Regions from separate parts of the Homo sapiens genome. Here region 2 is linked to region 1. Evidence: promoter capture Hi-C in human tissues and cell types (Jung and others, 2019). All regions are on one chromosome and are shown on one strand. Each heading gives the region's core, a stretch centred on a gene start or on the middle of the fragment in contact. The rest is flanking DNA. Distances are from core to core; before and after follow the strand shown. Region 1 holds the start of KIF3A (kinesin family member 3A). Region 2 has its middle 8.6 kb from the start of SEPTIN8.

What was found. Contacts are between HindIII fragments. The study calls those that stand out against the background at their distance.
Region 2: a fragment that was not itself captured here is called in contact with the fragment with the promoter of KIF3A in region 1 in 3 of the 25 tissues and cell types used here (lymphoblastoid cells, neural progenitor cells and thymus).

The regions. Positions count from the first base shown.
Region 1 is chr5:132,731,612-132,739,485 of GRCh38, reverse strand. KIF3A (kinesin family member 3A) reads left to right here and starts at 1,940. Exons shown (of 19, transcript NM_001300791.2): 1 at 1,940-2,072; 2 at 5,008-5,281. The coding sequence starts at 2,067. RefSeq lists a silencer at 2,076-2,385 and an enhancer at 2,536-2,635. The HindIII fragment of the contact is 7,994 bases long and covers 1-3,468 here.
Region 2 is chr5:132,781,874-132,789,747 of GRCh38, reverse strand. No RefSeq gene overlaps it. Among named protein-coding and RNA genes, the nearest start is that of SEPTIN8, 8.6 kb to the right of the region's middle. The HindIII fragment of the contact is 4,380 bases long and covers 2,810-7,189 here.

The DNA of each region.
Region 1 (7,874 bases), core at 691-3,190:
CAAATAGGTAAAAAAACATGTTATAGCCATGCAATGGAATATTATTCAGCCATAAAAAGTAACAAATTGCTGATATATGCTATAATAGGGATACAGCTTGAAAACTTTGTAAGTGAAAGAAGTTACTCACAAAAGGCTGCATATTGTGTAATTTCATTTATATGAAATGTCCAGAATAGGCAAATCCACAGAGATAGAAAGTAGATTGGTGGGTTGTCTAGGTCTGGGATGTTGGGAGTGGGGTGGGAGGAGGGTTGCAGAGAGCAAGGGGGAGTGGCTTATGAGTACAGAATGTCTTTTTGGAATGATAAAAATGTTCTAGGTTATGGTTGCACAACTCCATATATAGTAAGAACTATTGACTTGTACAATTTAAATCGGTGATTGTATGGTATGGTGTGTAAATTATATCTCAGTAAAGCTTGTATGTGTGTATATATAAAATATTGAATGGTGATAGGTACTATGGAGAAATATAAAGTGGGGAGGGAAAAAAAGAAGAGTTTGGGCTGAAGGTTGAAATTTTAAATAAGGAAATCATGTTAGGGTTCACTGGGGTTATGTGAACAAAGACTTTCTGGAGGAGGTGAGTGGTCAGGTGGTTTTTTAGGGAAAGAGCTGTCTAGGCTGCCTGGGTTTGGACCTGGGCTCTGCCATTGTTTATATGTATGACCTTGGAAAAGTTATTTAATGGTCCTGTGCCTCAATTACTTTATCTGTAAAATAATAATAAATAGTATCTATTTCAAAAGGTTATTGTGTGGATTAAATGAATTAAAAAACGAAAGCATGTAGAACAGTACACTGGCACTATGTAAAATGCTTTATCTTTATTTCTATCAGTTCCTACTGCAAGCTCACAGCCCTTGCATGCTAAGATGGAAGCACGACGGGAATGTTGGATGAAGCAAGGAGGCCAGGTGGGGCTGGTGCAGAAGAAGCAAGAGGGAGGATTGTAGGGCTTGTGGCTTTAGCTTTGTAAGATGGGAAATCAATGGAGGGTTTTGAGCAGAGAAAAGAGAAGATCTGATTCATGTTTTAGCACCAGCACTCTGGCTCCTGTCCAGCACACTGAAAAGGGACAAGGACACACAATCAAGGAAACCAGTTCTGAGCGATTGTAGTAATGCACGTGAGAGACGATGGTGGTGGTAGAAGTGGCCAAATTCTGGTTCCACTACAAAGATAGATACAACAGGCTGTATTTAAAGATAGAATATTGTGTATGAAAGAGACTGCAATTTTGACCTGAGCAGTTGTCGGAATTAAGCTCCCACATATTGAGATGAAGAAAGTCTGAGAGGGATGAGAGAGAGCCCTTTTAAATTTTTTGATGGGGGTGGAGTGGGTAGTGGGGCGATTGATGGGGGATCAAGATTTCAATTCTGGACATGATTAACTTGAAATGCCCATTACACATTCAAGTGGACTAGAAAGAGGATGGACGGATCACTGGTTCTTTGACCAACACGTATAAAAATCCCACTCTGTGCCAGGCTCTGTGTGGGCTCTGGAGATAGATGTGAGAATACTAACAATCTCCTTAAGAGAGCTCACTTTCTAATGGTAAGACAGGTCATGAGGAAGTTAGCAATCAAGCGAGGTCAGGTAGGTAAGGTCTTCAATTCTTCGGATGAGACAAAATGTACAATTGCTATTACTGATTTTAATATTCCGGGTATTGCAAGGGCCAGAAGACGGGCCTAAGAGCAGCTCCTCCTCCCAACCCCGGGCTGCCAGGTTACCTCCGCCTCAGTGCGTGCCACATTTCTAGCGCAGCAGAATGGCAGCATTGCGCACGCGCGGCCTCAGTCTGGCGTCCTAGGAGATGGACTCGGAAAGCCTCCGCGCAGGCGTAATTCAAGGGCCGAGAGAGCCTGAGACTGGGCTTGGGGCGGGGCGAGCTCGGAATGCGGCTGCGCACTGGGCGCTCTCGCCCGAGAAGCCGCAGTCTCGAGAGCGTCAACGAGGTGTTTCGGTAGTCTCTGGCCATCCTTTCTGCGCACCCGGTGTCGCTGGGCTGCACCCCGGGCGGGGACGTCCGCCGGGCACGGGAGGGGGCCAAGATGCCGGTGAGGAGAGTCGCTTCGCTTCTGGGGTTTCTTCTCATCCTAGCGGCCTGGCCCGGGGGCGCGGCCGTTGCCATGGAGGCGCGGAGCCGGCAGGCGGCCTGGGTGGGGCGGGGCAGGCTCGGTCGTGCGGTGGAGGTGGTTGGAGAGCCTGGCTGGTCAGCCCCGGGGCCGCGGGGGTCCGGCCGGCCTCGACAGGGACCTGGGGTCAGGCCCTGCCGCCCTCGTCGCTGCTGCATCCCGTGGGGCCTGCGCCGCTTATCAAAAAGGCGCTGTGCTGGAGGATGCGCTCTGGCTCGCAGCCCTTCCTGCTGAGCGGGGCGTCTGGGGGTGGCCACGGTGGGGCTCTTTGGATGCTGCACACCTGGTGAGGCCTTTGCGCCTCGGAGCAAGCGCAGGGAGGCAGCGGAGCGAAGGCTGCCTGCCCCTATTCCAGGCCCCATACTCCGAGTCTCCTAGCCTTGAGCTGTCATTGCTCTTGTGGCGCTTTAGCTTATGATGCAGAATGAAACCCGTAGGTGTCTTTGTGTGTGTGGCGGTGTTATGTTTATCTTCCAGGATTTCACAGATTGTTATCGTGAACTTAATAATGGGGCCTTCTAAGACCCCTTATTAGGGGTCATGGAGGAAAATTGAGCCATGGCCGCTTATTTAGTGGTTGTGAGGCCTCGGATAATTATTTAATCTGTCTGGGTCCTTAGTTCCCATGTAAACTTTACCTCATGGGGTTGTTATCCGCGTGAAATAATACACAGGAGACTAGAAGGACAGTGCTTGACATTTAAGATTAAATGCTCTATATTTGTTCTGTTCACTGCTTTCAAGTTTTAATTCAGTAAATATTGGGCACCAACCACATGCTAGGCCCTGAAGATACAACATTGAGCAACACCAGTCAGGTTCTTGAACTTGGAAAGAGAGAGGCTTGCCTTCTTGGGCAGAGGTGAAAATCATACATATTTACAGACGTAAGACACAAAACCTTAATAATGAAGTGGGTGGGTATCCTACAATAGAGAGAAGTAGATTCTGGTGAATTGGAATGTATTGCCATGTAAGAATGATGGTCTGCAGATGATAACAGGTCATTTTTTTTCCTCCCAAGAAGAGACTTTAGAAATTATTTTTGTGAAATTTCTCAATTTTAGCAACTAATTCAAAAGCTCTTTAAATACTATGAACCAAACAAAAGAAATTTGTGGGCTGAATTCAGCCTCTTGACTACCTGTTTGCAACCTCTGGTGTAGACAGAAAGACATTAATCAAATAAGGAACAAGCAAAAGTAAAATTTGTGTCCAGGAAGGGGAGAGCAGGGTGCTCTCTGAGCCTATAAGAGTATTTGACCTAGTCAGGAAGTCTTCCCAGGTGAAGTGGCTGTTGAGTTCTGAAGGATAAGTAGATGTTAACTAAGTGAAGAGGGGATTGAAGATGGTTCTAGGTAGAAGGAACAGCACATGGAAAGGCCAGTGGTGAGGAGCATGGTGACAAGAAAAGGCCAAGCAGCTCAGTGTGGCTGTGGCATGGATGAGCCAGGCAGAATATCTTGTGAAATAAGCCCAGTGAAGCAGACGTGGGTGGAAGCCAGACCTTACAGACCACCTTAAGGATTCTGGTTTTTGTTCTGAGATCTATGGGAAACCACTGAAGAATTTTTAAGTAGGAGAGTGACATGATTAGATGTGTGTTGACACTGACTGCTATTTGGAGAATAGGCAGTAGGGCAATCTGATTAGATTCAGGAGTATAGTTAGGAGGCAGTAATCCAGGGCCAAGATGATGGTGATTTAGACTAGGGTGATGAATAGATGAGAGGAATAGGATGAGAGATAGATAGAAGTGTATTGTACTGATATAATCTGTTACTTGTCAGTGACAATGTCAGAGTCAATGACAATGACTCATATTTGTTTCTCTTCAATGCTTAGAAGAGAATCTGAAACAGTAGGAATTTAACAAGTATCTGTTCAACTAAACTGTCCTTTTCACTTCAATAATAGGATTGTGTTTCATTATATTTTCTTAATCATAAAATTTCAGAAATGACGGGGTGCGGTGGCACATGCCTGTAATCTCAGCACTTTGGGAGGCCGAGGTGGGTGGATCACTTGCGGTCAGGAGTTCGAGACCAGCCTGGCCAACATGATGAAATTCCGTCTCTACTAAAAATACAAAAATTAGCTGGGCATGGTGATGGACGCCTGTAATCCTAGCTGCTGGGGAGGCTGAGGCAGCAGAATCGCTTGAGCCTGGGAGGCAGAGGTTGCAGTGAGCTGAGATCACGCCACTGCACTCCAGCCTGGGTGACAGGGTGAGACTGTGCCTCATAAATAAGAAAAAAAAAATTCAGAAATGGAAACTTTACATATACAAATGCTTATAAGGTTAGGTAATACTAAGGCATTTTTCTTTGCCATTAGACTTTCATTTCTGTCTTTATCTTATTATTGTTTTCTGTAGAGAAGATAAGCCATATATGGATATATTACATGATAAAAACCATTTTACAGATGCGTGATAGGAAATAAAACTAAAGTCTCAGGGGAAACAAAGGACCTACTATTTTCTTGAGTTAAAGTTGTTAACCATGTTCACATGTGTTTTCCTACAGGCAGGAAACGCTGGGTCAGAGACTTTTGTGCAAAAAGATGATCTATAATATACTGGTTCAGTTTCTGCTTGTACAGCCTTTGCCACAAATGTGAACTAGCTCTTCTCTCCCTTTTACATTTTAAAAGAAACGATTTTCCTTTTTGTATCTTTTAATAAACTTTTCAGCTATATGTAAGATCTTTAATTGCATTTAACAAATACCTGTGAAGTGTTTAATGTGTGCAAGGCACTGAGTTGGAAAAGTAGCCTTTTAAAGTTTATAAATTTAATCTGATGAGGGTAAAAATTAATGTTCTTTTCATTATTTGTAAATATTATCTCCAACAGATCAATAAATCAGAGAAGCCAGAAAGCTGCGATAATGTGAAGGTTGTTGTTAGGTGCCGGCCCCTCAATGAGAGAGAGAAATCAATGTGCTACAAACAGGCTGTCAGTGTGGATGAGATGAGGGGAACTATCACTGTACATAAGACTGATTCTTCCAATGAACCTCCAAAGACATTTACTTTTGATACTGTTTTTGGACCAGAGAGTAAACAACTTGATGTTTATAACTTAACTGCAAGACCTATTATTGATTCTGTACTTGAAGGCTACAATGGTAAGTGAATCTTTACTTTTTAAAAAACTCCCTTATTGAGACATAATTACTGTGCCATAAATTCACATATTGCAGCTGTGCAGTTTGATGAGTGTAGTAAATATATACAGTTGTGAAACCATCATCACAATCCAGCTTTAGAACACCCTTGTCATCCTCAAAATTTCCTTTATGCCCATTTGCAGACCCACCCCCAAGCAACTATTGATCTGCTTTCTGTCACTATAATTTTGCCTTTTCTTGAAATGTCATATAAATGATGTCATATAATATGTCACCTTTTTTATCTGTTTTCTTTCACATCAAATAATGTTTTTGAAGTTTATCCTGCTAGGATTTTCATAGGGATTGTGTTGAATTGTCATTCTGACAATATTGAGTCTTCAGTCCATGAACATGATACTTCTCTTCATTTAAAACGTTGAAACATTAATGAATTATGGACAGGGTCTTGCTCTGTTGCCCAGGCTGGAGTGCAGTGGTGCAGTCATAGCTTACTGCAGCCTTGAACCTGGGCTGAAGCTATCCTCTCACTTCTGCCTCCTGAGTAATGAGAACTACAGCTGTGCGCCACCACACCTGGCTCATTTTTTTGTTTTTGTAAAGACTGGGTCTTGCTGTGTTGCTCAGTCAGGTCTTGAACTCCTAGGCTCAAGCAATCTCCTACTGAGGCCTTTCAAAGCCCTGGGATTTCCCATGTCAGCTACCATGTCCAGCTTCTCTCCATTTATTTATATCTTAATTTCTCTCATCTGTATTTTGTAGCTTTTAGTGTACAAGTATTGCACTTGTTTTGATTAATTTATTCCTAAGTATTTTTTTGATGCTATTGTGAATAGGATTGCTTTCATAATTTCAATTTTGGATTGTGTGTTACTAATATATAGAGATGAAATTGATTTCTTTAGGTAGCTTTTGTGATAAAATTCAAATATCAAATTTATGATTTTAACCATTTTACACTTTATAGTTCATAGGTACATTTACAATGTCGTACAGCTGTCACCGCTGTCTGTTTCCAGAACATTTCTATCACTCCAAAAAGAAACCCTGTATCCATTAGCAGTCAGTCACTCCCAATCCATTACCACCTCCCTTCCCCCAACCCAGCAACTACTAATTTACTGTCTATATCTATTCTATGAGTTTGCCTATTCTGGACATTTTCTATAAATGGAATTATATGCTATGTGGCCTTTTGTGAATAACTTCTTTCACTTACAGTGTTTTCAAGCTTCATCCCTATTGTAACATATAAACATATATCAGCAATTCATTACTTTTTTTTTTTTTTTGGAGACGGAGTCTTGCTCTGTCGCCCAGGCTGGATTGCAGTGGCGTGATCTTGGCTCACTGCAACTTCTGCCTCCTGGGTTCAAGCGATTCTCCTGCCTCAGCCTCCTGAGTAGCTGGGACTACAGGCGCCCGCCAACACACCCAGCTAATTTTTTGTGTTTTTAGTAGAGACGGGGTTTCACCGTGTTAGCCAGGATGGTCTTGATCTCCTGACCTTGTGATCCGCCTGTCTCAGCCTCTGAAAGTGCTGGGATTACAGGCGTGAGCCACTGCACCTGGCTGATTTTTGTATTTTTAGTAGAGACGGGGTTTCACCATATTGGCCAGGCTGGTTTTGAACTCCTGATCTTGTGATCCACCCGCCTCGGCCTCCCAAAGTGCTGAGATTACAGGCGTGAGCCATTGCACTAGGCCAGCAATTCATTATTTTTTATGTCTGAATAATATTGTATAGATATATCATATTTTGTTTATCCATTTATTAGTTGGTGAACATTTGTTGTTTCTACTTTTTAGCTATTACAGATAATGTTACTTTGAACATTCTTTTACAGATTTTTGTGTGAACATATGTTTAGTTTCTCTTGGGTATATACCTAAGAGTGGAATTACTAGGTCACATGGTAACTTTGTTTAATGTTTTGAGGAGCTGCCAAACTTTTCTACAGTAGCTACACCATTTTATATTCCCATCAGCAATGTGTGAGGTTTCTGATTTCTTCACATCTTTGCCAGCACTTGTTACTGTCTTTTTGATGACTGCCCTCTTAGTACCCACAGTTGATTTTTGTATATTGACCTTGTATCCTGAAACTTTGCTAAACTTATTAATTCTAGTAGTTTTTTTATGTTTTGGGTTTTTTGTAAATTTTGTAGGATTTTCTACTTGTAAGAATATGTTGGCCAGGCACAGTGGCTCACGCCTGTAATCCCAGCACATTGGAGGCCGAGGCAGGCAGATCACGAGGTCGGGAGTTCGAGACTAGCCTGACCAACATGGTGAAACCCTGTCTCTACTAAAAATAAAAAAATTAGCCAGGCATGGTGGCACGTGCCTGTAATCCCAGCTACTCGGGAGGCTGGGGCAGGAGAATCGCCTGAACCTCGGAGGCGGAGGTTGCAGTGAACCAAGATCGTGCCATTGCACTCCAGCCTGGGTGACAGGGCAAGACTCTGTCTCAAAAAAAAAAAAAAATGTTGTTTGCAAGTAAAGACAGTTTTTACTTTGTCCTTTCCAATCTCCTTTAATTTATTTTTGTTACCTGATAGCACCTGGAGGCTAGAACCTCCAGTAAAT
Region 2 (7,874 bases), core at 3,750-6,249, 47 kb before region 1:
GGGAAGCATCAGGATGTAGTGCTGTCAGGCACCAGGGCTGGTGATACTTTTTTTTTCTCATGAAACTCTGGGCAGCTCAGGAGCATGCCGAGAAAGCAGATGGATTTCGTGTAATGTGAGTTGACCTGCTGTCATTCTCTCAGTGGTGGCCTGGAAGAGCTAATGTAGCTCCCCAAGGCCCTGGCTTCATTCCTGGAGAGTGTCTTTGCCTTGGGTGGGCTCATCGTTTGTGTTTGAAACTGCTGCTGACCAGAGCAAATTAGTATTTAAGCCTCAGCCCAAATGTCATCTCCAGGGACGATCTCCCTCCTCTCATTCTCCCCTGGATCCCTGGCAGGGGGTACCAGGGCAGTGTGCTTCCTGATTTGTGATGGTCTGGGTCCCACCAAGACAGCCTGGGCTGGGGGCGAAGCATTTGCTCTAGCAGAGCACACACTGGGAGGGTGAGAGCCAGGTTGAGCCATCAGGTGTCCACCAGTATGCCTTCAGTAGGATTGCTGAGGCAAGGAGAGCAAGAACAATGGGGATGGCCAAGACACAGGGTTCTGGAGGCCAGCAGAAAACTAAAGGAATGTCACCCTGGGCGGGCAAGGTGAGTGAGGTGAGAACAAGGAAGAACTAGGTAAAAGTTGGCAGTGAGAGACCGGAGCAGGCTGCTGGTACCAGGTGGCTCAGGATTTGGGCTTTGTAACGCTGGTATTTTGCCCTTTTATCTTATTCTTAGCATATTTTGCTTGACTGAGGGCAGATTTCTTAAAGGGGTGGTCAAGTTGGTCTGTGTATTATTTTAATTAATACTTTTTATGTGTGCTTGCCTGTTGAACTCTGAACTCTGGCAGGCAGCATCCATGCCTTCTTTACCTTCATGCCCATGGCACACTGTAAGCGCTCAGTAAATCTTTGTTGTGTAAATGACCCCAGTGTTCAATTGTTGAGGAACTTCTATAGTCATAACCTGGGCCAGCAGGATCCTGAGAAGTGAGCCAGCCCTTCCCCTCCCCTCCAAGTGGGACTTCACAGATAAGAACAAATTCTACAGGCCCCAAATCCATAATTCACCAGAAAAACAGACACTTTCCTTTATCTAAAATGAACTCAGCCTGCCTGACCTGGAGTCAGAAGGCCAGACTAAGTGAACTCTTGTGCCTTCAGGCACCTACCCAACAGCCATTCTCTTTCTTTTCTAACAGACTCCAGTTTTTTCAGATAGCAATGTGCCCAGCCCTAGAGGCAAATCATTGTTTTGTCATGTGGGAAATTATCTTAATGCAATGTAGCTTCCAAGTACCCTGTCAGGTAAGCTGTCTGGAGATCATGAACAGAAAGACTCACAGACCAATTTAAGATACTTAAGTCACCCTGCTTATTGATCCAATTTAAAGCGTACAGTGAGAAGCTAGGGGAAAGAGGTGGGGTAGGTTAACCCAGTTAGGGTATGGGGTAAGCAAGTTGGAGGGAGCATACTGCCTGAATCCTGTGTTCCAGGGTTCACATACTATCCCTCTATATTCCCCCCAACCCCTGTCTCTCTCTCTCTCTCTCTCTCTCTCTCTCTCTCTCTCTCTCTCTCTCTCTCTCTCCCTCTCCCCCATTATCTGTCCACACTGACAATGTGATTATGAAAACAAGAAAATAAGAGTTAGCTGGGTGCGGTGGCTCACACCTGTTATCCCAGCACTTTGGCAGGCCGAGGTGGGAGGACTGCTTGGGCCCAGGAGTTAGAGACCAGCCTAGGCAACATGGTGAAACTTCCTCTCTACCAAAAAGATACAAATTAGCCAGGCCTGGTGCACACACCTGTAGTCCCAGCTACTTGGAAGGCTGAGAAGGGAGGATTGATTAAGCCCAGGAGGTCGAGTCTGCAGCAGTGAGCTGTGATCACATCACCGCACCCCAGCCTGGGCGACTGATGGAAACCCTGTCTGAAAAAAAATAAATAAATAAGTAAAGTGAGAAAGATAAAAGAAAACAAGAGTTAAGGTTGAACAAAGGGGCTCAGCAAACAAGGTGCCTAGAGCTAACAGGCTTTATCAAAGAAGCCTAGGGGCAAATACACTGGCTAGACCCATAGCATATAATTTACCTGCCAAGCAGCTGGGAAAGAGTACAGGAGGGACCAGGATGGGATCAAAGTGGGAGTCTCTAAGGGGACCAATTTGAGGATGACAGTTGTCCATCTGGAATTAGCATGATCCTTGCCTTATAACTGGGGGTTTCCATCCCTTTCTATCTCCAAGTAATACTCTTGTGTGTTCTATCCTTTTAAATCTAAGCCTGACACCCATATGTTTCATGTATTCTATGTCTAGCGTGTCTCTCAAGTTACCAACTTACCATCTATTCTTAACACAGCTTTTGAATTTTGCCTACTGTTTTTTGTTTTTTCTTGCCTGCTACAGTAAATTTAAATATTCTCAGTAATACAGCCAACACACATTCCATTAGTCCAGGCCAACCTTTGGCAATCCTTTATATTCTGTGTGGTCAAATGACTCAGTTCTGGTCACTGAGATCTCAGGGGGCATTTTTAGTGGGGGATCTGGAAAGATTTTCTTCCTTGATGAAAGGAAGAGCAATGCAAGGAAGAAGACTTTTGTCCCCTTTCCTCTCTTCCTGTGTCTTCCACATCTGAACCAGTGGCTGGCACATAACAGACACTCAACAAATACTTTGTTGAGTGAGTGAATGATGGATGCTGGTGCCTAGTCTTAACAGCTGTGACATTGAACTTGTCCTTCATCTTCTGATCAAGCTTCATTTCTGGGTCCAGGGTTGGGAAGGTGAAAGCAGGGTGGTGGAAATAAATCTTGTGATGGTAATTTATTATAATAATAATATTAGCAGCAGTTAACATTTATTGAAAAGCTTCCTCTGTGTCAGAAATAGTTTTAAGCACTTCACATGTAATCCTCACAATAACCATATGAGGCAGAAATTATTATTATCCTCATTTTGCACATGAGGAAACTGAGCACAGAATATAAGTTTACTTACCTGAGATCCCTCAGCTGGCAAGTGATGGCCCTGGAATTAGAATTCAGACAACTGAGTTCAGAGAGCACACCCTTAGACACAGTGCCATTTGTATTAGGGTTCTATTGCTGCCACAAACGTTGTGGCTTAAAACAGCACAAATTCATTGTCTTACAGTTCTGGAGGTCAGCAGTCCCACAGTCTTCCTGGGCTGAAATCGGGGTATTGGCAGGACTATGCTCCTTCTAGAGGCTGTAGGGTAGAATTCGTTTCCTTGCCATTTTCCGGTCTAGAAGCTGCCCAAATTCCTTGGCTGGTGGCTGCATCACTCTGATCTCTGCTTCTCTCATCACATCTCCTTCTCCGACTCTTCTGCTTCCCTATTATAGCGCAGCCCTATTACAAGGGCCCTTGGGATTTCACTGGGCCCACCTGAATAATCAGGGATAATCTCTCCATTTAAAAATCCTCAATTCAATCATATTTGCAAAATGCCCTTTGCCATGTAAGGTAAGATATTCACAGGCTGTGGGGATTAGGAAGTGGACGTCTTGTGGGGGGCCACTATTCTGACCACCATACCATCTTGCCTGTGGGTATGGGTCCCATAACCCATACTGCGCTAGGTCCTGGATCAACAAGTCCCAAGTCCTGCAGCAGAAGTTCTGCCGTGAATGGAGGTGTATTCCGTTCAACCTTCTTCCACTTCCCCAAAGGCTTCTGCCTGGTTACCACTCCTTCACAATCCAGCCCCCCTGCTCCCCACCCCAGCAGGCAAGGAACACTTAATAAACAGGTGATATGAACCAAGCAGATGAGTGCTGGGCCTTGGCCTCTTGTTCATGAGTTCATCTAGACTGGATTCTGTATGTTAATCAGGTCCTTAGCTTTCTCCATTTTCATTCCCCAGTCAGATGGCCTCAGCCTTGTGGTGTGTGTTTTCTTTATTGTGAATTTACCGTCATTTCTACTTCTAATTCAACTTAGAGTAATTTCTCTTAGCTCCCTTGAATCCTTTCTTCCAATCTCCCTGGCCAGCCCCTTGGTTCTAGGTAAAACTCTACCTCTCAGCTGTCTGAACTCGGACTCAGTGGTTTCCCTGGATTCCTCCCAGCAGCAGCCTTTTCCAGACCCATTTTGTCTGTCTGAATACATTTCCCCCAGAGAGGTGGTTTGTCAGACTTATTTTTAGCTGCGGAAAAACCCTTTGTTGAAATGAAAGCCTTATATATGAAGCAGGCGGGATGGCGCTGTTTGGGGAGGTTGTAGAGCTCCACCAGATGAGTGTTTGTCCCCCATGGCCCCTTTTGACCCAGTTTGAAAAGCATTGCTCTGCAGACCCCTCTCGTTTTAAATCTTGCCTTGCTGATTTGCCTGTCCTTAGTTAACTGTCTCCTTTCCTGATGGCTTCTTCTAGCACCTTAAACAGCATGAAGCATTCTTTCTCTCTCTGCACTTCCCTCATGCCCTCTGAAGGTCACATTTTTCCAAAAAAGCAAAACACTTTAACTTCCTCATCTTTGCCTAGTGGTGTCACCATGTGGGGCTTCCTCTCACCTGCTTGTATCCCACCTGTTCATGGCTGCAGAGATGGAGACCATGGTGATATGAGCTGGAGCTGGGTGGCCTCTCTGTAATGGGAGCATCTTGAAGTCCTCCACTTCTATAGATTGTAGCTGTTTGGTTACGGGACAGTTGACATATTTTTTTTCCAGATAATTTTTTTTCTTTTTAAGATGGAGTTTCACTCTGTCACCAGGCTGGAGTGCAGTGGCGGGATCCATGCTCACTGCAACCTCCACCTCCCAGGTTCAAGCAATTCTCCTGCCTCAGCCTCCAGAGTAGCTGGGATTACAGGTGCACACCACCATGCCCAGCTAATTTTGTATTTTTAGTAGAGATGGGGTTTTGCCATATTGGCCAAGCTGGTCCCAAACTCCCGATCTCAGGTGATCTGCCTACCTCAGCCTCCAGAAGTGCTGGGATTACATCCATGAATCACCGTGCCCGGCCCCCCTTTTTTTTTTTTTTTTTTTTAAGAGACAGGGTCTCACCCTGTACCCAGGCTGGAGTGCAGTGGCTTGATCATAGCTCACTTCTGTTTCAATCTCTCAGGCTCAAGTGATTCTCCTGCCTCAGCTTCTTGAGTAGCTGTGGCTACAGGAGTTCACCACTATACCCAGCTAATTTTTAAAATTTTTAGTAGAGATGAGATATCTTTATGTCTTCTGGGCTGGTCTAGAACTCCTGGGCTCAAGCCATCTTTCTGCCTTGGCCTCTGAAAGTGCTAGGATTACAAGTATGAGCCACTGCACCTGGCCCAGAGAATTCTTTTTGGCCACAACTACGTTAAAAGAGCAGAATGCTTCCACCTGGGAGAGGCCCAGGGTTCTAGGGGAGGCCATGGGCAGAATCTTTGAATAAGTTTCGTGGAGCTCCTTGTAAAGCTGCTGTCAATGCCCTGTCCTTAGACCCTCTGGGCCAGGCTTGGAGTGGGGTCTGCTCCCCTGCTGGCAGTTCTGGACCATAGAGTTGCTGCAGGGATCCCTGTGGACTCAGGGACTGGAGACCTGTGGGTGTCTCTGGCCCATTCCCTGAGGGCACCCTGGACCTCATGAAACTTGAGGCTTACATTTCCAGGTCACTCACTTGCTTGTGTCCCTTCTAAGTCCTGTTCTTTTCTCATTCTAAATAAGTAATTACGTCCATATCTAATTTTGTCTTTATAACTGTGTATTCTTTTAAATTAAAAAAAAATTTTTTTTTGAGACGGGGTCTCGCTTTGCCACCCTGGCTGGAGTGCAGCGGCGAAATCTCAGCTTGCTGCAGCCTGGATCTCCTGGGCTCAAGTGATCCTCCCACCTCAGCCTCCCAAGTAGCTGGGGCTACAGACCTGTGCCACCACACCCGGCTAAGTTTTTAATTTTTCATAGAGATGGGGGTCTCACTATGTCGCCCAGGCTGGTCTGGAACCCCTGGGCTCAAGCAATCCTCCCACCATGGCATCCCAAAGTGCTGGGATTACACATGTGAGCCACCATGCCATGCCAGTGTATTCTTTTCCTAAAAGAAAGCCTTCCAAATCCCACAAGCTTTAGGCTCCACAAAACCTGGCTGCATCCCTGAGAACCCTGGATTCAGGACTGTCTCAGGGAACCCAGGGACTCATGGGCTAGGCGTGCCTCTTCTATGAAAAAAGGCAGAGATTCTCATTTCCAGGGCTTTCCAAGGTGTCCCTGGTGCTCTGTCTCCAGGACATCCATGCTAAATGCTCTGGTAGAAGGCAGGGAGGCATCCTGCAGCATGAGGGTACACTGTGGAATTCCGAGGCACAGGACAGCTATAAACCCATGAGGCCAGGGAAGGGCTGCTTTCTGCTGGCTGTTCCTTCTGTGCCACATGGCTCCCTGTACCCAGCCTCAGTACAAACTCTTGCCAATCTTTCTGGCACGCATAAGAAAATTGTTCCTTCTCTCTAGGCTAACTTTTCCATCAGGCCAGGACTCCTGATCTAGGCCTCAACCTGGCAGCACTGCCATGAGACTGTAATTCCTCAATCTGGCTTTTAAGAATTCTGGTTTTCAAAATGGGAGAGTTTGCCTGCCAGCTGAGACATCTCGGGACTTTGGAATTCAGTAGGCTCTTCGAGTCTGTTCTTGTTTTGTATTGTTTCGGCAGTCATTGGGACAAGTCAGACCTCAAAGCCAGAAGTAACATGTGCTGCTTTAAAAATGTGCAGAAAGCCAGGCATGGTGGCTCACGCCTGTAATCCCAGCACTTTGGGAGGCCAAGGTGGGCAGATCACTTGAGATCAGGAGCTCAAGACCAGCCTGGTGAACATGGTGAAACCCCGTCTCTATTAAAAATACAAAAATTAGCTGGGCATGGTGGCGGGTGCCTGTAATCCCAGCTACTCGGGAGGCTGAGGCAGAAGAATTGCTTGAATCTGGGAGGCAGAGGTTGCAGTGAGCCGAGCTCAAGCCACTGCACTCCAGCCTGGGCAACAGAGCGAGACTCTGTCTCAATAAATTGATAAATAATAAAAATAAAAATGTGTAGGGACACTGCTGCTTACAGATTATGGATGAATGCTTCCCCACAGAACTTCTCTTTCTCAATTCCTAACAAAATCAAAGAAAGTAAATAAAACAAGGGAGTAAAATCTATTATCAGCAACCAACACAATAAACTTCCAAATTGACATCTAAAGAAAGACGTAGAGGATTCTGGAGTGGCAAGGAATGGCACCACACGTCTCTGCTCCCTACCCTGTCCCGAGTGCCCAGAAATGGACCAAAACCTGAACATTCTTCCTATGGCTCCTGAATCTGAAAGGAAGCAGATGTGAGTCATGCCCTGTCTTCTTCCTCTTCTGAATGAGCTGTATTAAAAAGCATGCCGGGGGGAGATGGGGAAGCAGGGAGCACGAGCCACCAAGCTGACTTGGCTGATGGAAATAAAGTCTCCAGAACAACACTCCCCATGGGGAAACTGATCCTGAGTTCTGCCCCTTCCTCAGAAAAGGTGTATAGAGTCCTGCTTTCCACCCCAGTTAGGTGGCATGAGCCCGTACAGGACATTAAAAAGGCTCTCAGGACAGGAGCATGCTGAGGCATTCCAACAAAGACCACAGGCTGCTTCAGCTCAGCTGTCCCATCCAGACTACCAAAAAGTGTAGAGAACCTAAATACTCAGCCTTCTGCTTAGCTCAGAGGGAAAAATAGGGTCTCAAACAGTGGGGAGACGTCAGTAAGCTCTTCTCCCTGCTGCTGTGTTACAGTGGCATAAAGAAGGTCTGGACAGAGCCACCAAACCAGAAAGAAAAGAAATGGATGCAAACACATGGCAGCAAAATATTAATGATAAATAAGGGGAAAAACAGAGAGCGAAAGATGAGGGCT